Regions from separate parts of the Homo sapiens genome. Here regions 2, 3, 4, 5, 6 and 7 are each linked to region 1. The links are contacts of gene promoters, found by promoter capture Hi-C in blood cells and fetal thymus (Javierre and others, 2016). All regions are on one chromosome and are shown on one strand. The core of a region is centred on a gene start or on the middle of the fragment in contact, and the rest is flanking DNA. Distances in the headings are between cores, read along the strand shown. Region 1 holds the start of ALDH1B1 (aldehyde dehydrogenase 1 family member B1). Region 2 has its middle 8.7 kb from the start of POLR1E. Region 3 overlaps POLR1E (RNA polymerase I subunit E). Region 4 overlaps FBXO10 (F-box protein 10). Region 5 has its middle 2.1 kb from the start of FBXO10. Region 6 has its middle 7.6 kb from the start of FRMPD1. Region 7 overlaps FRMPD1 (FERM and PDZ domain containing 1).

The links. The method cuts DNA at HindIII sites, captures the fragments that hold promoters and counts their contacts. A CHiCAGO score of 5 or more calls a contact.
Region 2: a fragment that was not itself captured here is called in contact with the fragment with the promoter of ALDH1B1 in region 1 in 1 of 17 cell types (endothelial precursors); the score reaches 6.5 in endothelial precursors.
Region 3: a contact is called between a fragment that was not itself captured here and the fragment with the promoter of ALDH1B1 in region 1, in 2 of 17 cell types (endothelial precursors and M2 macrophages). The highest score is 5.4, in endothelial precursors.
Region 4: a fragment that was not itself captured here is called in contact with the fragment with the promoter of ALDH1B1 in region 1 in 1 of 17 cell types (endothelial precursors); the score reaches 5.3 in endothelial precursors.
Region 5: a fragment that was not itself captured here is called in contact with the fragment with the promoter of ALDH1B1 in region 1 in 2 of 17 cell types (M0 macrophages and endothelial precursors); the score reaches 7.4 in M0 macrophages.
Region 6: a contact is called between a fragment that was not itself captured here and the fragment with the promoter of ALDH1B1 in region 1, in 1 of 17 cell types (endothelial precursors). The highest score is 5.0, in endothelial precursors.
Region 7: a contact is called between a fragment that was not itself captured here and the fragment with the promoter of ALDH1B1 in region 1, in 3 of 17 cell types (endothelial precursors, M0 macrophages and M2 macrophages). The highest score is 7.5, in endothelial precursors.

Annotation. Positions count from the first base shown.
Region 1 is chr9:38,391,296-38,394,133 of GRCh38, reverse strand. It overlaps ALDH1B1 (aldehyde dehydrogenase 1 family member B1), which reads right to left and starts at 1,432. Exons shown (of 2, transcript NM_000692.5): 1 at 1,327-1,432. RefSeq lists enhancers at 956-1,045, 1,086-1,135 and a silencer at 1,346-1,665. The HindIII fragment of the contact is 5,526 bases long and covers 1-1,979 here.
Region 2 is chr9:37,475,802-37,478,639 of GRCh38, reverse strand. It overlaps the pseudogene KCTD9P3. Among named protein-coding and RNA genes, the nearest start is that of POLR1E, 8.7 kb to the left of the region's middle. RefSeq lists an enhancer at 310-1,509. The HindIII fragment of the contact is 4,652 bases long and covers 1-2,838 here.
Region 3 is chr9:37,493,532-37,496,369 of GRCh38, reverse strand. It overlaps POLR1E (RNA polymerase I subunit E), which reads right to left. Exons shown (of 12, transcript NM_022490.4): 6 at 2,667-2,811; 7 at 1,094-1,201; 8 at 384-480. Among named protein-coding and RNA genes, the nearest start is that of POLR1E, 9.0 kb to the right of the region's middle. The HindIII fragment of the contact is 1,908 bases long and covers 438-2,345 here.
Region 4 is chr9:37,509,645-37,512,482 of GRCh38, reverse strand. FBXO10 (F-box protein 10) reads left to right here. Exons shown (of 11, transcript NM_012166.3): 11 at 1-1,591. Among named protein-coding and RNA genes, the nearest start is that of POLR1E, 25 kb to the right of the region's middle. RefSeq lists an enhancer at 361-917. The HindIII fragment of the contact is 2,479 bases long and covers 215-2,693 here.
Region 5 is chr9:37,577,067-37,579,904 of GRCh38, reverse strand. No RefSeq gene overlaps it. Among named protein-coding and RNA genes, the nearest start is that of FBXO10, 2.1 kb to the right of the region's middle. The HindIII fragment of the contact is 2,060 bases long and covers 470-2,529 here.
Region 6 is chr9:37,641,952-37,644,789 of GRCh38, reverse strand. It overlaps a transcript of FRMPD1 not described here. Among named protein-coding and RNA genes, the nearest start is that of FRMPD1, 7.6 kb to the left of the region's middle. The HindIII fragment of the contact is 996 bases long and covers 921-1,916 here.
Region 7 is chr9:37,723,681-37,726,518 of GRCh38, reverse strand. FRMPD1 (FERM and PDZ domain containing 1) reads right to left here. Exons shown (of 16, transcript NM_014907.3): 7 at 2,199-2,294. Among named protein-coding and RNA genes, the nearest start is that of TRMT10B, 29 kb to the left of the region's middle. The HindIII fragment of the contact is 1,610 bases long and covers 623-2,232 here.

The DNA of each region.
Region 1 (2,838 bases), core at 183-2,682:
ACCTGAACAAAGGGGCACGAGAGCCTTTATTCCTGATGCAAGTCCTGCCCCTGTACCCTTTCCCCATTGGCTGGGGTCAGGTCGTACAATCTAAACTAATCCCGGTTGGCTAAACATTTGATTTATTTTAGATAGAGTGGGCACGTAAAAGAAAGTGGAGAGAAAGGGGAAAGGGTGTCTGTAATGAGCTAGAAAGTTAGTCTTCTTTCCAAATAAGCAAAGGAATGTGAGCTGGTACTGATAACGCTTGGTACTGTGGCATGCCTGGGCATCTAACAAAGGCAAAAAGGAGAAAAATGAAAAAAAAAAAGGGGGGGATACTAAGAATTAAAGAATAAAAGATTGATCAGATTATTTGAAGAGAAACCTCATCATATCCCACAGGGGGAAGCTGAGTCAGCAGATCTGCCAGGGGTGCCCAGGGTTCCATTTAGCTCAGGACTTTGCCATATGCTGGGACACAGCCCCCTTGCCACCAACAGGCCTGGCTCTGAGGGTGAGGAGACCAAAAGGAGGTAGGGGAAAGGGGAGTCACCAACCCATGGGGTAAGGATTGGAGGGGTGAAGCAGTCAGGAGAGGTGGTCATAGGCCAAGGCTGGCAAACCTTTGCAGCCACACCAAGGCCGTTCCTACTCTTGGGGCCTATATGGGGTTCTTGCTGGGGCCTCCACTTGCTGATAGGAAGATCACAGCTCACAGAGCATCATGCTTTACAGTTTGCAGGCTGTCTTCTCACGGGAAATTTGCCAAGCCTCTCTGCAGTCCCTGGGTGGTCAGGGTTGATGATGACCCCCATTCTGGAAGAAGGCTGGGCATCAGAGAGGTTCAGGGACTCACCGAGGACACACAGCAAGAAAGTATAGGAGCCTCACCCCAGACTTCCACAAACCTAGCTTTGCATATCCTCCTGAATACAGGCAATTTTTTACAGTTCACCCACAGCGGGAAGGACCGGACCTTCTCTATCCGCGGGAACTGCAGCGGCGCCCACCTCACCCCTTCTGCGGGGGAAAGGGCGCAACCTTTGGGCTTGTCCAAGCCTCTGGGCTATGGTCAGGGGCCCTCTGTTGAAGTGGGCCGAGTGGGCAGGAGTGTTGAGGTCGAGCTAACGTGGTAAGGTCTGGGGGCGTCTGTGTCCTCGGGGCTCCTGTAGCGTCACCCAGAGGCGGGGGATGGGATTAGGGGACGTGGAGAGAGTCCTACAGTGCAACGGCGGAAAGGCCAGCCCCCAGATGCGGACGCCGCGGCCCAGAGAGGAAAGCCCCCACGCGGAGCCAGGAGCTGCGGCTTCCCGAGGGAGCCGAGGGGAGACCAGCGTTAGTTACCTGCAGCAGGCTCGGGCTCCGGTTCAGGATCACGCTTGGGTTCTGGTTCCGGCCCTCCCAGCTCTGTCCACATGGCCGCCCAGGGCTGGCCGCAGGTCCCGCCTCCGCGCAGCCCGGGGCTCAGCGGCCAATGAGGCTCCGCCTGCGCCTGGGGCGCTGCCTACGTCCTGTCGCCGGCCAAGGCCGCTCCTCCCTCGCCCCGCCCGGTCTTTCCCGGTCCCCGCCCCTCTACCCCCGGCAGCCCGCACCGCTTCAGCGCTCCCTCCCTCGGGTCTCCGCAAGCCCAGTGTCCACGTTGCTCAGATCTAGGCTCCTAAGGCACTGGTTTGGGAGCGGAAACAGAGATACCCAGAGAGGGGCAGGGGCTTCCCCAGGTCACACAGCAAAGTTTTCGGAGACCGAACCCCAACTACACTTTGCATTTCTCCCCGCTGCAAGACGCTGCTTAATCGACTGCCATCCTTGAGACTCCCCTTAACCCCTTCTCTGCCTCGCCTCTCCCTCACTTTTTTTGTCCAGGATTCACTAATTTCTGTCCTCCACTTTCACTGCTCCTTTCTTCAGTTCCTTCAAGAAGATTTTATATTTGGGCATTTTTCAAAGTACATTTTTGTCCTAAGGACAAAAAGAATGTATGCACAGTGTAGAAAGCTTGGAAAACACAGGAAAGGATGAAAAAAGAAGAAAAATATCACCTGTAATCTCTTCACCTACGGTAGCCATTATTACGGTGTTCGTCCTGCTAGTATTGTTTCCTCTGCATCTTTCAAAATTATTTTAATAAAAATAAAATCATATAGTAACCTCTGTTGTGCTGCTTTAAAAAAAATTTAAAAACTTAGCGCTGTATTTTGAAGTTTTCTCCTATCACTAATTACAGATGACATCATCCTCTCCAAGGTGGCATAGAATTCTGTTGTAGGGGTAAACTGTTGGACATTTAATTGTCTCCATTTTGTTGCTATAAAGGTTGCCAAGATGGACCACTGAACATGCATCTCACTCGCTCCACCCTCGCTGCACCTTCCTTCTGGCTAGGGAGGTCCCAAAGCTAACCGCCATGTTTCCCAGCCTCATTTGCAGTTAGAGTTCTGGATGTGGACTAGGTGCTGCCAATTAGTAGTACTCTGCCGGATGTGGAAGGCGGGCACGCATTGGAGGGTATTGTCCTGCCCCTGTAGGGTGGCACTAGCAGGATAGCAGAAATGGGAGATGTTCTGCGGCAGCATTCCTTGTCCCTTCTCCAGCTTTCTGGCTGTGGACCGGCCGCTGTGGCTGTAGCCGCTCCTTGACCTGGCTTCCTGCTCTTTGAATGGAGGCTGCAGGAGGGTGTCTGAAGTAGCCTCAGACAGGCACGAGGCTGGTGGGCCACGTCCATATTGTCCTGAGAGTTGGTCCTGGTCTGGCTAAGGCTTGCTTCTGCCTCCGGCACTTGCAGCAGGTCTGTAAGCACCCAGTTCCTTGTATTAAATCCCTGCCTCTCCACTGATCTAGGGTGCTCACATGCGACTG
Region 2 (2,838 bases), core at 118-2,617, 920 kb after region 1:
ACATCATGCCTATTTAAAAGCAAATACAATAGATACTATTCGTGGTCATAAAACCAGGTAAACTCCCCTACCCCATTCAAAAGGCAGCAATATCTAGTTTCCCTACATCTATTGAATGAGTGCTTTTGCGTTAAAAATCAGAATATGGAAAAAAAAGTCAGTTTTTTCCCTTATGCATGCTGAAAACAAGCATAATCCTCTAAATGATTTTTTAAAATTTGCTGACAGTGTTATTTCTTCTAGACAACTGAGTGGGTGGAGAAAGAAAAGCGATAAGGAAAACATTTTCATCTTGCACATCTTCCTTCAGCCCCTAAAATTCTCATCTGACACTTTGCGACATGTGTAGTGGTGTCAGCATCTCTTCAAATCTAGCTCCCCTCACGTTGGACCCTCTCAGGTTGGCTTCTTGAAGATCACACCCAGACAGATCACAGTTCTCTAAATCAGTTCCTGTCAGAGTTGCTCCTCTGAGGCTACAGTTCTTCAACTTTGCATTTTTTAAGGTAGCCACTCTCAGGTTAATTCCTGTCATCTGACTTCCTTCCATATCCACACCTTTCAGATTAGCACCTTCTAAATTGGCTTTAAGACCAGAAGGATCCTCAAAATTACACAGTTTCAGAGATGCTCCTTCTGCATTAGAACAGAGCATTTGACTCCCTGGAGATTTGCACAGTCAAGCACTGATCCAGAGAGATCAGCTCATTCAAGATTTGCACAGCAAAGATTTGCATGTGCAAGATTGCAGCAGTTTAAATTGGTGATTTTGAAGTTAATGTATCGAAGATCCAAATGAGAAAGTTCAGCACCACTGAAGTTCAAACCCTGGCATCGCATTTCTGACTTGGTTGGAGTTGCTAGCAAACATCGGACAAATTCCTTTCGGGATATTGGTAAGTGATCCTCTGGTGGTTGAGAATTCTTTATTGCCACTTTTAGGTGTTCAATCAATGAGTCAATACCAAAAAATCTTGCTTCTTCTAACACACCCAATAAATCAATGCCATCATTTACAATGAGCTGTCCATGACGCAAGTAGTTCAAAATGGGTTCAAAGTACTCAGGACTTTGGTCAATTAAGAAAGCTCCTCTATGATCTTGCTTATTTCCCCAGACACCTTTGTCCTTAAACATGTGGGCCAGCATAATGTCAGGTTCTTTATTCACTAAAGTGCTCCAGGTAGTTGTAAAGTACTGCCCTCCAACATGTAATGTTAGCCAGTCTGTGTGGAATCCTAGCAATCCTTCAGGAGGCTTAGAATCTGTCTGAGGATCAATAAATGGCTCTCCCTCACACACAAATAAAACATCATCATCCCTGATCAAAACAATATCATCATTCAGTCCACCTTTCCCATTATACACACTGGTGGCTTTTATGCCGAGTTTACTGCTGGCCACAGACAGCAAATCACATGAAGTTCCATATGCAGCAACCACCTTTCCGTTCTTGGGGCTGCCGTTCAGGAACAGGGTCACCCGCCTCATTGCGCTGCCCCCGCGGGTTCCTGAGTGAGCTGCCACCCTCCCACCTGGTCCTCTTCCCACCTTTTTCTCCTCCCGCCCTTCCCCTCCCTCCACCCACTCTGATTCACCTCCCTTCGCCAAATTCCTGCCCTTGGGGACACACCACACACGCACTCTGTCCCACATGAGGGTTCGGCTGGTCCTCCTTCCCACCCCTAAAAAGGATTCTTAATACACAGTCAAATTTATCGCTGAACAATTTTCAGATGTTTTAAAATCCTCATGCTGTCTTCTAACATTGTACAAGACATTTCAAAAGATATAAGAATTAAAATCTACGATCCTTGGCTTCAGGAACTAACTTCCTAGGAGGAACACAGAAAATGGAAAAAGCATACTATAGGGTGGATACTGCTGAGTCTCTAGAATTGCCCTTTTAGGTTCTATCAGGTTTTTTTGTTTTTGTTTCTTTGGAGGCAGAGTCTCACTCTGTCACCCAGGCTGGAGTGCAGTGGTGCGATCTCAGCTCACTGCAACCTCCGTCTCCTGGGTTCAAGCGATTCTCCTGCCTCAGCCTCCTGAGTAGCTGGGATTACAGGCACCTGCCACCATGCTTGGCTAATTTTTTTGTATTTTTAGTAGAGATGAGGTTTCACCATGTTGGCCAGGCTGGTCTTGAACTCCTGACCTCAAGTGATCTGCCTGCCTTGGCCTCCCAAAGTGCTGGGATTACAGGTGTGAGCCGCCACACCCGGCCTGGTTCTGTCAGTTTTGTTGGCTTCACATATTGCCATGGTTTGAATGTCCCCTCCAAAAGTCATGTTGAAATGTAATTGCCATTGTGATAGTATTAAGAGGTGGGGCCTTTAGTAAGTGACTAGGGGCTGGGCATGGTGGTTCACGCCTGTAATTCTAGCACTTTGGGAGGCTGAGGTGAAAGAATTGCTCAGGAATTCGAGACCAGCCTGGGCAACATAGTGAGACCTTGTCTCTACCAAAAAATAAACAAGGCTGGGTGCAGTGGCTCATGCCTGTAATCTTGGCACTTTGGGAGGCTGAGGCGGTTGGATCACCTGAGGTTGGGAGTTCCAGATCAGCCTGGCCAACATGGTGAAACCCTGTCTCTACTAAAAATACAAAAAAAAAATAACTGGGCATGGTGGCAGGTGCCTGTATCCCAGCTACTTGGGAGGCTGAGGCGGGAGAATCGCTTGAACCTGGGGGCCGAGGTTGCAGTGAACCGAAATTGTGCCACTTCACTCCAGCCTGGGCAAAAGAGCAAGACTCCGTCTCAATATAAACAAACAAACAAACAAACAAAATTAGCTGGGTGTGATGGCATTCACCTGTGCTCCCAACTACATGGGA
Region 3 (2,838 bases), core at 142-2,641, 900 kb after region 1:
TTTGCCTACCATATCATCACAGAGAAACCATCACTTTGGCCAGCACCCATTCCCAGGCCAGCATTTGGGCCCTGCCAGTGACAATCAGCACCAGCATGACACTGGGTGACACAGGCCAGCTCTAGTTCCCAGCCCCAGAGTAGAAGGCCTCACCACCCTCTGCCCTGTCGCAGGTCCCACGGACTCAGAGACCAGCCCTCTCCCTCGAATGTGACCCACAGCTCCTGAAAGCCCAAACATTCAAGAAAACACTGGCTCATTCATGTCCAATGCTCCAGACACACTTCCTCACTGACTGACGCCCAGAGGACCTGCACAGTGTCTGACTACTGTTGGGTCCCAACAGCACTCCCCAGAATCCCCATCTGCTTAAGTCAGGGTACCTGTTCTCCTCAATCATCTTCAGTATTTCTTCTGACGTGACGTTCCTGAAAGCTTCAGATGGGCTCTGAAGAGCTTCATACTCCGCAGGGGAAAGAACTAGTTACAGGTCAAGAATATAATCCAACCAAAATAGAAACATCCAACTAGCTAGGTCATCTCATAGCAGTGGCATTTCACAGACAGGGAAACAGGCTCAGAGAGCCAAAGATCACACAGGGCAGATCACATAGGGGCAGAGCTTGGTGACTCAGTTCTCCGACTCCCAGCCCAGAGCCCATTCCCTGCCCAGGCTTTTCTGCTTTTTCTCATCACAAAGCCACTGCAGGCATTTTCCTTCTGACCGGACCCCTTGGGTGGTGAAATTCTAAGCTCCAACCCTTCCTTCAACAAAAGTGGTCTGCCCTAGACTTTGGGCATTTGGCTGGTTCAACTCTTATTTTGACTCTCCATGGAGAGTGAGCCCCACAGGTCTAAGCTGTGGGCATTTGGCATTTTGCTGAGGAATGGATTTGAATCCCAGGGGCCGGTCCCTCAGCTAGTGAGGAAGCCAAGTTAACCTCCTGGCAAGAGCACTGAGCAACTGCAAAGGTTTGGATGGAGCTCTTGTGAATGTCACAGAACACAGACACCCTCAGAGAACCTGACTGCACACACGTGCAAACATCTCAACTTGTGAAATAAGGCAGCTTTTCTACTGCAAGAAGGATACGATCTTCAAATTTATACACGTCTTCAGGCTTGGCTGCATCATCATAGCAGGGAGGAAGGTAGAGGGAGTCATCTTGCAAGTCATTGTGGATAGCATCGCTGACCAGAGCTTTTCAATAAAGAAACAATCCATGTATCACCCTGTTTGTTTCCAGTTCCCCAACATTCTTTTCAGTCTGTGCACTTCAGACCACCAATGGTCCAGAAACCCCAAGTCTAAATGCTTCTGCCAAAGTGACCTCGCCTCCCCATCAGGCTGACTGCTTCAGGACTGCCATGTTCACTCATGAACAAACACAAGCTAGGCACTGGAGAAGGTGGAGGTGACAAGATTCCCCTCAGGTAACTTACAATAGAGTTGGGATTGACAGCTGTGCTAATACATAAACATTTACAATATAAAATGAGAGAAACTAAAAGTGAGGGACGTCCAAAATAGCCTTTAATGGCTTAACTTCTAGAAAAACTTGCCACACATTGTAGGTGGAACAAAACTTTCAGAATATAACACTGTAACTGCCCCACAAGAATAACTCCGCAGCCAGGTGTGGTGGCTCACACCTGTAACCTCAACATTTTGGAAGGCCAAGGCGGGAGGATGGCTTGAGCCCAGAAGTTTGAGACCAGCCCAGGCAACATGGCAAGACCCTGTCTCTCCAAAAAACTAAAAAAATTAGCTGAGCATGGTGGCACACATCTGTGATCCCAGCCACTTGGGAGGCTGAAGTAGGAGGATCACTTGAGCCCAGGAGGTTATGGCTGCAGTGAGCCATGTCTGCACCACTGCACTCTAGTCTGGGTGATAGAGCAAGACCCCATCTCCAATCAATCAATAAATAAATTTGTGAAAGTGTTGAAATCTATATAATCATAGGGTATGGAAAGATTTTCCAAAAATTACTAGAATTTCATTCTTAATAGAAAAACTGCTCTGCCCAGGGCACAGTGGTGTGCGCCTATAATCCTAGCTACCTGGGAGGCTGAGGCGGGAGGACTGCTTGAAGCCAAGGGTTCAAGATCAGCCTGGGCAACATAGCAAGACCTCATCTCCAAAATCGGTAAAAAGAAAAGCTACTCTTACACAAACTTGCTCTTATGTTCTTATAATGTATTTGAACAATAAATACATTTTAAAATAATACAATTAAATACTCCAGCTGCTGAATACCGGAAACAGAGCCACTGATCCCAAAGTGAAATGCCACCTCTGGAGGCTCATTTCCATCAACACATCAGCCTTTTTGACCAAAGCTTCCCTGCAACGCACAAGGAGAGACCTGAGGCCTTCTCCCTCCTCTGTGCCCTGCAGGCCATAACCCCAGCACCATAAGCACGGCAGGCATGTATCCATTCCATGCCTGTCCCTGTACTTGACTGTGGATCACTAGAAGACAAAGCCATGTCGGATGTTTCTTACTACTTCCAGAACCTGTCCGTGAGAAGGCCTTCAGCAAGAGGCTGAAAGGAATCCAGCCCTAGCTCCCAGCATTCCATGTGTGGGTGGGTAAAAGATCTCAAGAGAAGAGAAAGCTGTCATTATGGGCAGACTCTTAGCCCAAGTTCCAACTTCTTACCAGTCACACCCTTCGTATCAATGATAGTCTCTGCAGCTTTAGCCACTGCACGATTCAAAGATTCATTGCCAACTCTGTTCATTCTCCTGGTGTTCAGAGCTCGCTTCTGTTTGGTGGTACCAAAGGCTTCAATACAAGAATCCATCTGTTTATGAGATAAACCTGGTTACTG
Region 4 (2,838 bases), core at 205-2,704, 880 kb after region 1:
GCCTGAAAAGACTCCGCCCCTCCCCCTCCCCCTCGAACAAATGGGTCCCGGGCCTCCAAAACACGGTACCTCCAGAACACTTCAGCTCCACAGCCCATAGCAAGAAGAAAGTGGGCAATGTTTTTCAGGGAGAAGGGATAGAAGCTGGTGGGTTTCCAGTCACTCGAAGTCTATAAAGATTGTGAAGAGCGGGGGAAGCTCAAATGCTGAAGCTTTTGGTCAGGATTTTCTCTGAGTTCTAAGGAACTGTGTTTTACACACACCAAACCCAGACTCTTCTCAGGAAAGAGCAGATTTACTTCTGATGGCGGGAAGTGATTCTAGTGAGGTGGAGAGAGACAACTGCTCCAGAATTTTCCCCTTTGCTAGAGCTGTCTCCCTCTCAATCCCTCCAGGGACCCCACCACACCCTCCCAGCTGTCTCTGGAGGCTGGAGGAGTTGAGTTTGGTTGACTTGAGGACTTGGACATGGACCTGGGAGGAAGGAAGGACCTGGGAGCAACAGGAGACCCCATGGAAAGGCTGCCCCAGGGATGACAAGAGGGACATGCTGAAACAGGTGGGGCTGCAGCGTGCAGGCAGATGCTAGGCTGGGTGGGCAGGGATGCACAAGGCTCTACTCCATCCCCAGAGAGCTCCCAAATGCAGAAGGATTCAAACCCCATGTGAGCGTGCCCACACCAGCCGCCCCTCCTGAGCATCAGCCTGTTCAGATGAGGGTACCTGGGCCTCTCGTTCGCATCTGTGTTCTCATGGATGAGCGCTGGTCTTTACTGACCCTCCCAAGCCTCCCCACTCTGTGCCTTGGCTCATGCTCTTTCCTCCTCCCGGCATGCCCTTCTCCCCCATCTCCGTGTCCTCGTTCCTCAAGGTTTAGCCGAGACACTGCCACCTCCACATAGCTCTCCCTGCCCTCTTTCCCCCTCTGGGCCTCAGTGGCCTTTCTCTGCTCCCTCTCAGGGTACTGAGCACTTTCTGCCTTGTCCTGGAGCTATCTGGGTCCATTGCCTGACCCCCCACTCACCTGTGTGCTCCCCGTAGGTAGGGCCACTTCTGACTGTGTGTCCCCAGATCCAGCCTGGGGTTGGGGTAGGATTAGTGGCCTGAGTGAGGAGAGGAAGGCCAGCTCCCAGAGGACTTTACTGAACCGTACTGTGAATATGTCCAAGTCCCAAAGCCAGGTGAGGTCAGACCCCACTGCCTGAGGAAGAGGGCTGGATGCAGGGCCAGCTCAACCTGAACAATCCCCTCCCACTCGGCCTTTCCTGTGGGGCCTTCACCAGCCTGCTGGGGTCACTGTCGTGCACTTGGCTGCGTGGCTGGTTCTATTGGCCCTAGGTGCTGCTCTGTTGGGTGGGATGGGAGGGGGTAGAGGGAGCCAGGAGCACTGGGTTCTCCCTGAGAACACTGGGCACAAGAGTACTGGCCTCTTCTATCCCTGGCACTGTCCTTTGCACTTGTTTGGTGGCCCCAATGTGAGTCGCTGTAAAAAATGCTGCCGTTACTATTTTCTAAGAAATGACTTTTCTGTGAACCAACAGTAACAAAAACCTCAGTAACCAAAATAAAGTTCTATATTTTAAAAAAGGCACTTTTGGAAGCCTTTCCTTAGTCTGGGCATATACTGGGGCTCCCAGCTGGCCAGGCCCAGCACTGTTTCCTCTGAAGGAGACAGGAGAATCCTGGGGCCATCTTGTTGGGTCAGCTTGTTCCTGTGACAGTTCCAGATATAGGGCTGAAGGGCTCAATCGGGCTATAATTCCACTCCTGCCTGCTCTGTGAAGACAACAGAAACAGGCCGTCCCCATGGATCACTGGACTGTCAGCTTAGGGACCTCAGACCCCGGAGCACACTTCCCCAACTTCACTTACTCAGCATCTTAGAATTTTTGCTATATCCATATGTCACCTGAGAAGTTAGTACTTTTTTCTTTAAATCTACTTAATTTTTAGAAGTTTTAAATATGCAGAAAAATTGAGCAGACAGATGATTACTAGAGTTCCCATATCACCCTTGCCACCCCCGAGTTTCTGTGTTATTAACATCTTATGCTATCAGTGTACATTTGTAAAAATTCATAAACTAGTACTGGCACATTATTAACTAAAGTCCATAGTTTATTCAGATTTTTTTCTTTTTGAAACGGGATCTCACTCTGTTGCCCAGGCTAGAGTGCAGTGGTGTGATCATGGTTCACCGCAGCCTTGACCTCCTCAGGCTCACTCAGGTGATCCTCCCACCTCAGCCTCCTGAGCAGCTGGGACTACAGGCATGCACCACCACGCCTGGCTAATTTATGTATTTTTTTGTAGAGACGGGGTTTTGCCATGTTGCCTAGCCTGGTCTCAAACTCCTGGGCTCAAGTGATCCGCCTGCTTCAATCCCCCAAAGTGCTGGGATTACAAACATGAGCCACTGTGCCTGGCCTCAGATTTCTTTAGTTTGTTACCTAATGTCCTTTTTCCATTCCAGGATCCCATCCTACAACATGTCTTTTTTTCACACACTGAAAAGACTTTTTATATTACTATAAACATACATTAAACTATTAAAATGAAAATATTCATTGGTTTTGGTAGTTACTGTTTGCTGCCCCTCAGGGAGAGTACATGCCCTCTCACGTTGCCATGGGACCTGATTTGCCCAGTGAATGTAGGCAGAAGTGGTTAATGGTCACTTCTGGGTAGAAGCTTTAAGGGCCAGCAGAACTTGCCCCGATCGTGTGTCCCTCTGCCAGTGGACCACCACGTGTCAGACATGGCAGCCCGAGTCCCGGGGTGAAGCTAACCCGGAGCAGGGTCCCAGGTGCCTGCTGGCTGACAGACATGTGCCAGACA
Region 5 (2,838 bases), core at 250-2,749, 810 kb after region 1:
AAAAAAAAAAAAAAAAAAAAACCCCTGGCCAGGTGTGGTGGCTCATGCCTGTAATCCCAGAGCTTTGGGAGGCTGAGGCGGGCGAATCACCTGAGGTCGGGAGTTTGAGACCAGCCTGGCCAACATGGTGAAACCCCGTCTCTACTAAAATACAAAAATTAGCTGGGCCTAGTGGCTGGTACCTGTTAATACCAGCTACGGGGGAGGCTGAAGCAGGACAATCGCTTGAACCTGGGAGGTGGGGGTTGCGGTGAGCCAAGATCATGCCATTGCACTCCAGTCTGGGCGACAAGAGCAAAACCCCATCTCAAAACAAACAAAAATTCCCATGTGGCACGTGATGCTTGCCCCACTAATAGGGAAGACAGCTTGCTCTTGTAGGACACTGCTGTAGCACTTTGAAAGTCAGCTGTTTTATACAAATACCAAAATGATAATGTTAGCTGGCACAAATCCAGAAACTCAAGCTTTTGATTGTTTATTGACAGTCATATCTGGACTGCCAGTTTCATGGAGTAAGATACTTTTCAAAGGATTAAATATGGCATAGCTTTGTCAGTCAGCAAGGTAAATCATCAGGCTCATTGCAGTGTGAGACTACCCCTGTGGTCTTTCTACTATACCTAGCTACTGTACAACTTTGTGTCTTAAAATAAATTGTTGGCTTTAGGTTTTAGTGTTTGGTTTTCTTATTTATAAAAGAGACCAGCTACATGGTAACTTAGACCTCACCCAGAATCATACCACATTCACCATATGGTAATAATAGATGGAATACATTTTTATGGAATATATTCTATAGAACCAGGGACTGAAAAAGGTCAGTAGGACCACGGGGTCAATTATTTCAGGCCACAATTTCGTGTAATAATTTCTTTTTCATAGTATTCTTGGTAAATTATGTTTCTATAGCTGATATTCTCTCGTAAATTCCGGAGGTCTGTATCCAACTCCTTTTCTTTTTTAGAGACAGGGTCTTGCTTCGTTGCCCAGGTTGGTCTCAAACTCCTGGGTTCAAGCGATCCTCCTGCCTCAGCCTCCTGAGTAGCTGGGATTACAAGTGAACTGCTTTTTTTTTTTTTTTTTTGAGACACAGTCTCACTCTGCCACTCAGGCTGGAGTGCAGTGGCGCACGATCTCTGCTCACTGCAACCACCACCTCCCAGGTTCAAGCGATTCTCCTGCCTCAGCCTCCTGATAGCTGGAATTACAGGCACGCGCCACCACACCCAGCCAATTTTTGTGTTTTTAATAGAGACGGCGTTTCACCATGTTGGTCAGTCTGGTCTCAAACTCCTGACCTCGTGATTCGTCCGTTCGACCTCCCAGAGTGCTGGGATTACAGGCGTGAGCCACCACGCCCAGCCGTGAATTGCTTTTTTAATCACTCCACTTGGATGACACACAGGCATCTCAAAATTAATTATTTTTAATTGATAGATAATTGTACATATTTATGGGGTACATGTGATATTTGACTCATGCATACAATACGTAATGATCAAATCAGGGTATTTAGAATATCCATCTCAAAAATTTATCATTTATTTGTATTGGGAGCATTTAAATCTAGCTATTTTGAAATATACAATAAATTATTGTTAACTACAGTCACCCTACTGTGCTATTGAACACTAAAATTTATTCCTTCTATCCATGTTTGTACCCATTAACCAACCTCTCTCTATCCCCTTCCCCTCCCAGCCTCTGGTAACTGTCATTCTACTTGCCAACTGCATGAGATCAACTTTTTAGCTCCCACGTATGAGTGAGAACATGTGATATTTGTCTTTCTATGCGTGGCTTATTTCACTTTACATAATGACCTCCAGTTCCATCTGTGTTGCTGCAAATGACAGGCTGAATAGTATTCTGTTGTGTATATATGCCACATTCTTTTTATCCATTCATCTGTTGATGAAGACTTAGGTTGCTTCCATATCTTGGCTATTGCGAATAGTGCTGCAATAAACATGGGGATCCAGGCATACCTTTGACATACTGATTTCCATTCCTGGATAAATATCCAGCAGTGGGACTGCTGGATCATATGGCAGTTCTAGTTTTACTTTTTTGAGAAACCTCCATGCATTTTTCTATACTGGCTGTATAATTCAGTGTATGAGAGTTCCCTTTTCTCCATGTCCTCACCAGCATTTGTTATTTTTTTGTCTTTTTGTTAATAGTCATTCTAACTGGCAGTGTCAAATTTAACAAGTTCAAATGGGAGTTCTTGATCTCCCCCCGCTTCCAAATATATTCCCCTTACAATAGTTCCCATTTCAATAAATAGCACCTCCACGGGCCCAGTTAATAGGTTAAGCTACCAATCTCTGCTTCCACCCTTAACTCCTGTCTTCACATAGTAGCTGACATACTGCTTTAAAAGGTATCAAATCCTCCACCCCTTCGATGGCTTCCTGTTACGTACAATTTTAAAATCCTTATCATGGCCTATTAAGTGCTGCGTGATCTGGCCCCTACCTACCTTTCTGACCTCACTTATATTGTTCTTCCCGTTAAAAAGCTTCAGACAAGCTAGACGTTTTCCATTTCCACAAAGAGCGATCTTTTCTCCTCCAACCCAACCCACCTGGTCCAAGAGTTTTCACAGGGCTTACCCTGCCCCTCTTCCATTTGGCTAACTCTTTATCTTACTCTGAGAGGTCTTCCTTGACTACCCTTCCTTGGTCCCTAATTTATTTAGTTTTATTTTTGAAACAAGAGTCTCGCCCTGTCACCCAGGCTGGAGTGCAGTGGCACAATCATGGCTCACTGTTAACCTCGAACTCCTGAGCTCAAGTGATCTTTCCTCCAGCCTCGGCCTGCAAAAGCGCT
Region 6 (2,838 bases), core at 169-2,668, 750 kb after region 1:
GTTAGGCAGGACACACATGACAATCCCCACTTCACAGATGAAACTGAGGCAAGCTCAGAGAATTCAAGCGACTGGTATGAGGTCACAGAGCTGGTAAATGGGATTCAGATTCAGGTTTATTTGGGAAACTGAGCTCTATTGTTGGGGAGGAAAGATGGCTGTATTAGAACTGTGTTATAGAGAAACTTCCTAAATCACCTTAGCGTGCCTACCCAGGGGGCTTCTCTGAAGATGGGGGGCCACCTTCCAAGCCCTTCTCTTACCCAGCTCCCTGCTGAGGGGACCCAAATTGTGAGCCATACAGTGAATGGGGCATAGGACACTGTTGCCTATAGCTGGAGCCCAATCCCACACAGACAATCGCAGTGCAGGATTGGCAAAGGGCGGTGTTGCTGCCACACCGTCCACCATTGCAAGAAGGACAAAGGCCCAGGAGCCTGAGAACTAGTCAGCCTCGCTAGTGAGTCTGCAGTGAAGGCTTTCAATCCTGGGCTACCTGAGGGGCCCAGCTACCCCAACTAAGCAGGACCTCTCAACAGGAGAGGAAGAACTGTCCCTGCCCACTTCCTGCAAATAGCTCTGTGGGAAGACCCCTGACTCTGTCAAGACCTGCCTCTGTAGAACCGAATGTCACAGGTGGACCAAACTATCCCTTCAGGGTCACACCTAGCCCACACAGCATCTTTATGTGGGTTAGAAAAAAGCTTCCCCTCTCAGATACCTTTGTGAAAATGAGAAAATATGCTTCCTTCCTTTGGGCCAATGTAGCTCCACACTAGGGTACACAGCTCAGCAAGTGGATGTTGGCTCCTATTAATCCTCTCCACCAGATGCCCTTGCAATAAGCAAACTACACAATGGCACACAGCAGCGCAACCCCACCCTATTAATTCTGGGAGTGTCCAAAGATCCTAAAAGCTTCTTCCACCTCACCTCAGCCTGGTGGACCCAGCCAGGTAGCTTTGTTCACCACCAGGCCACTGGAGAAGCATCATTCTTTCCTTTCATGATCGCTGAACTATTGTACCCAAGAGGCCACAAAAGCCCAACTTACCCACTTGTGGATATAAGTAGCCAAAGCAGATCAGAGATTATTTAAAGGGAGTCAATAGCTTGAAGGAGCACAACCAAGACAAATAACTAAAAGAGAGGAATCACATTGAGATCAATTTAATAGAAGAAAAACTAACTTTTTAAAATCAAAAATGTAAGGAGATTCAAGCAGAGACTAGAAAGAAATGATCAAAATGAGGAAAAATTGTTTTTGAAAGTTAAATACACAATTTTTTAAATTTGCAATTGTGGAAATGAAAAATGTAATGAACACCACTGAAAACTGATTTAATGATCTGAAAGATGAAAAAGGAGAACTACCCCACAGTACCAAACCAAAATTAAAAAGAAATAGAAATTATGAGTCAGAGGGTTTTAAAACATTGATGAAATATCTAGAAGATATGCAAATAATAGTACCAAATGGAGGAAAAAAATAACAAAGGAGCAAAGCAATAACCAAAATATAATAGAAAAAAAGACTAAGCCCATAGTCTTGAATTATCAGATAAAATGTATGCACTTGAATTACCTATACATTAAATGTATGGACTTGAGTTATCAGGTAAAAAAGACTCTAATTTCTACACTGTATTAATTTTAAAACACACACCTAGAACTTCCAGTCCTGGGCATTTCACTGAAAAGGGTAAAATGTCAGGAGCAGTAGACTGTAATAAGTTATTTATGTATGATTTAATACTTGAGCAACAACTTTAAAAACTATACAGAGAGATACACTCAAAAATACTTTAGATAAATCAAAGTAGAATTCTTTAAAAAGCCCAAGTACTCCACAGGGAGGCAGGAAAAAGAAAAAAGAGGAGTGAGAAATGGGGAACAAACAGATGGGAGAGAAAGCTTCCAAGACTTTCCCCTGTGCAGAAAGAAAAGAAATAACAACATAGCAGAGTTAAGTGCTAACATTTTAGTAATTATATTAAATGTAAATAATCTAAATACACCAATTAAAAGACAAAGATTGGCAGAATGGATATTTAAAAATATATCCTGGTGAAATTTCTGAACTCCTAGAATAAAGAGTAAATGTCATGAGCTTCCAGGCAATGTGAATAGCTTACCGAAGGAGGAAACAGAGCCCTCTGGAATTATGGATCCCACAAATCGTCCTTGCCAAATTTTATTGAGACCTAATATTTGTTAGGCACTGTTCTAAGCGGTTTATCTCATTTTAATAACCCTATGAATTATATATTAATATCCCCACTTTATAAATGAGAAAACCAAGGCCAAATGTTCCCCTGGTCACTCAACTAGTAAGAGCTTGGATTCAAATCCAAGAAATCTAGTGAAAGAAACTAAATAATAAGTCCAAGTCAGCTATTGAAGGGGAGAGGGATGATAGAGCTTCCAGGCAGAGAGAACAGCCTATGGGAAGGCTCTAAGGATGGAAAGGAACACCTATTAGATGCTATGTATTTTTAATATACTAACACAAAAACTCCAACAAGCAAGTATCATGTGTCTTTTTTGCAGACAAAGAGACTCTACATGGTTAAGTAACCTGCTCAAGATCATCCAGATAGCTGGTGTTGGTGATTGAGTCAGAATTTAAATCTGGGAGGGTTCTGCTACCCTCCTCTGTTCTGTCAACAGGTGAAAACAGCTTTTGGAGCATATTTCCCATGGTGATTGTCTTTCTCACTCCAATAGTTTTGCTGTAGTGATCCAGAAATTTAAATTTTAAAGAGCAAAGGGCCTGTCCTACCTTTCTAGGTTATTTTGGTCAAGCCTGCTCTGGGTCTGAGAGATCTTCACCTACAA
Region 7 (2,838 bases), core at 178-2,677, 670 kb after region 1:
ACCATGTTGGCCAGGCTGGTCTCAAACTCCTGACCTCAGTTGATCCACCCACTTCGGCCTCCTAAACTGCTGGGATTACAGGCATGAGCCACTGCACCCGGCCCCTGGGTAATTTATTGCCAAGTTGTTGGTGATATAGAAATGCCTGGCACACAAAAAGTGTCAATAAATGTTTACTGGGTCAAATGACATATTCTTTTTCTTGGTTTAGAGAAAGAGGGTTTTCTAATACAAGAACTTTTCTTCCCTTAGTGAGGGAAAGGGGAAGAGAAGTCACTGATGAGTGGACAGTAATTTTTCCTTTTTTCACTCATAAGATTTATTTATGTCCACCTTTCTCTGTGTCGTAAACAGCTAAAGACTTTGCTTTAAAAAATTTGGCTATTACAGATAAATAAGATTAACCAGTATTATACTGGCTAAGTCCTTGTTCATTTCCCCAACTCTCTCTGTCATCTTAAGTTTAATTCCCCTGTAATGTGGGCCTTTATTGTAAACTACCTCAAAGTCCTTTTGGCCACCAAAGGGGGACTTGCTTTAAAAAAAATCAACCCTTCTATTCCAATCCACTTTGAGCAAAGATGATGAAAGTAGAACTCTTGTCTAATCCATTTGCAAAGCTTCCCTTTTCTGCAGAATGGCAGAGTGACAAGATTCCAGCACAGGATTCAAAAACAGACCAAGTTCAAAGCCAGTTATGAGCTAGCTGATCTTGACAGCTTTTGGGCCTCTTGGGCCTGTTTTCTCTTCTGCAAAGTGGGGATAACACTAGTTACTTCACAAGGTTGCTAGGGCATTAAATGAGATCGTATACAAGAAAGTGCCCAGGAAGCGTGCCTGGCATGTAGTAAACACTTAAAGTCTATTCCTCCATTGCTTCCTCCTCTGGGCTTGGAGTTCCCCAGGTTCAGAAAGCCCTTCTCCAGCTTCTTCTAACTCACATTTAGGAAGAAATAGAATAGAGCATTTGGAGCAGCTGTAGGAATTGCCAAATGAAGGTGCCAGAGAGAAGCACTGGATGTGTGCGTACAGGTGTATGTACATTGTACATATGTGTGCATGCATATGCATGTGTGTGAATGTACTGTGCAGATGTGTGTGTGCATGTGTGTCTTGGCTACTGTTTGTCCCCTATAGCTGCATTGGCCCTCCTGAACCTGCTCTCCCCTTGTACCAGAAGAGCTGGGCTCAATGTTTCCTCTTACATGGTTTTTACTGTTTGAACAACTTTGCTTCTTCACTGCGGCCTCACTCTAACACTATTTACTCCCTTGTTCAAGAACTGCTAGCACCATACGATATTATCTATGGATAAAACTCAAGCTCTATTGTTGCCTGGCATTTGAGGCCCTCCACAGCCACTCCTTCCACAAGAAAACAGCCTGTGCCCCAGTCCTGCTGGATGGTTTGCTATTTCCTGGGCAATTGCCATTTTTCTGGCTCTCTGCATTAGTTCACGTGACTCTCTGATTGATATGTACCCTACCCTCAACTGCCCTGTCCCTACTGGCCCTTGTTGAAATCTTAGTTATCCTCCAAAGCTCAGCGCAGGTCCAGCTTCTTTCCCATGCCTTGTCTGAAGTCTGGACAGGCTGGAAGAGATGGTACTCTTCCCCTTGCACTTGGCCCTTATTTCATCCTGCCTTGGACAATCAAGCATTCCCTGAACGTCCACCGTCCCTCAACTAGACTGCAAGCTCCTGAAGATCGAGACCACCCCTGACTAAGCTCAGTAACCCCTCTCAGATCATCTCATATGGGGAAACTTGTGAAGTATAAGTTCAATTGACTTTAACCAAGAACAGAATAGGCAGCGCCTGGGCCTTTCCTGACATCTCACCTGGGTTTTCGTAGTGTTTGGCGTAGCAGGTAGAGTCACAGACAAATGGCAGGGAAGCCTGGTGGTTATGGGTGAAGGCTTAGGAGTTCTAATCTGACCTTTGGGCAAGTCACTTCATCTCTCTAAGTCCCGATTCCCACCCCTTAACCCCCACCCAGTTACGATGGTGGTAAAAAGACCATCTTTCTGGGTGGTCGTGCAACGAAATGAGATAACATGGCACCTGGCTTATTATTACAGGGGCTCAGACCACGGTGTTTGTGAGACCACCAAGGCAGATGCAGGGCAAGATGCCTGGGGGGTCCTAGCAGCCAGAACATTCTTCTTGGGAAAAGAAGTTCAAGTTTATTCTTAATACCTTCACGGTTGTGTTTGCCTCAAACTTGAAAGCTTTGGTCTGTCCATTCTCCAAGTATAGCTTGAGCACGTTGGGCATACACAGCAGAGAATTACCCTGGAAAACACAAGAGTATTGTTGTATCCCTGTCTTTTTTTATTCCTTCTGGAGACAGGGTCTCTCTCTGTCACCCAGGCTGGAGAACAGTGGTACGATCTCGGCTCACTCAACCTCTGACTCCCAGGTTCAAGCGACTCTCCCACCTCAGCCTGCCAAATAGCTGGGATTACAGGCACCTGCCACCACGACTGGCTTTTATTTTTTTTTATTTTTTTTATTTTTTTTGACAGAGTCTCACTCTGTCACCCAGGCTGGAGTGCAGTGGTGCAATCTTGGCTCACTGCAACTTCCACCTCCTGGGTTCAAGCAAATTCTCCTGTCTCAGCCTCCCGAGTAGCTGAGACTACAGGCACACACCACCATGCCCAGCTAATTTTTGTATTTTTTTTTTAGTAGAGATGGGGTTTCACCATGTTGGCCAGGCTGGTCTTGAACTCCTGACCTCAGGTGATCCACCCGCCTCAGCCTCCCAAAGTGCTGGGATTACAGGCCTAAGCCACTGTGCCCAGCCTAATTTTTGTATTTTTAGTAGAGACAGGGT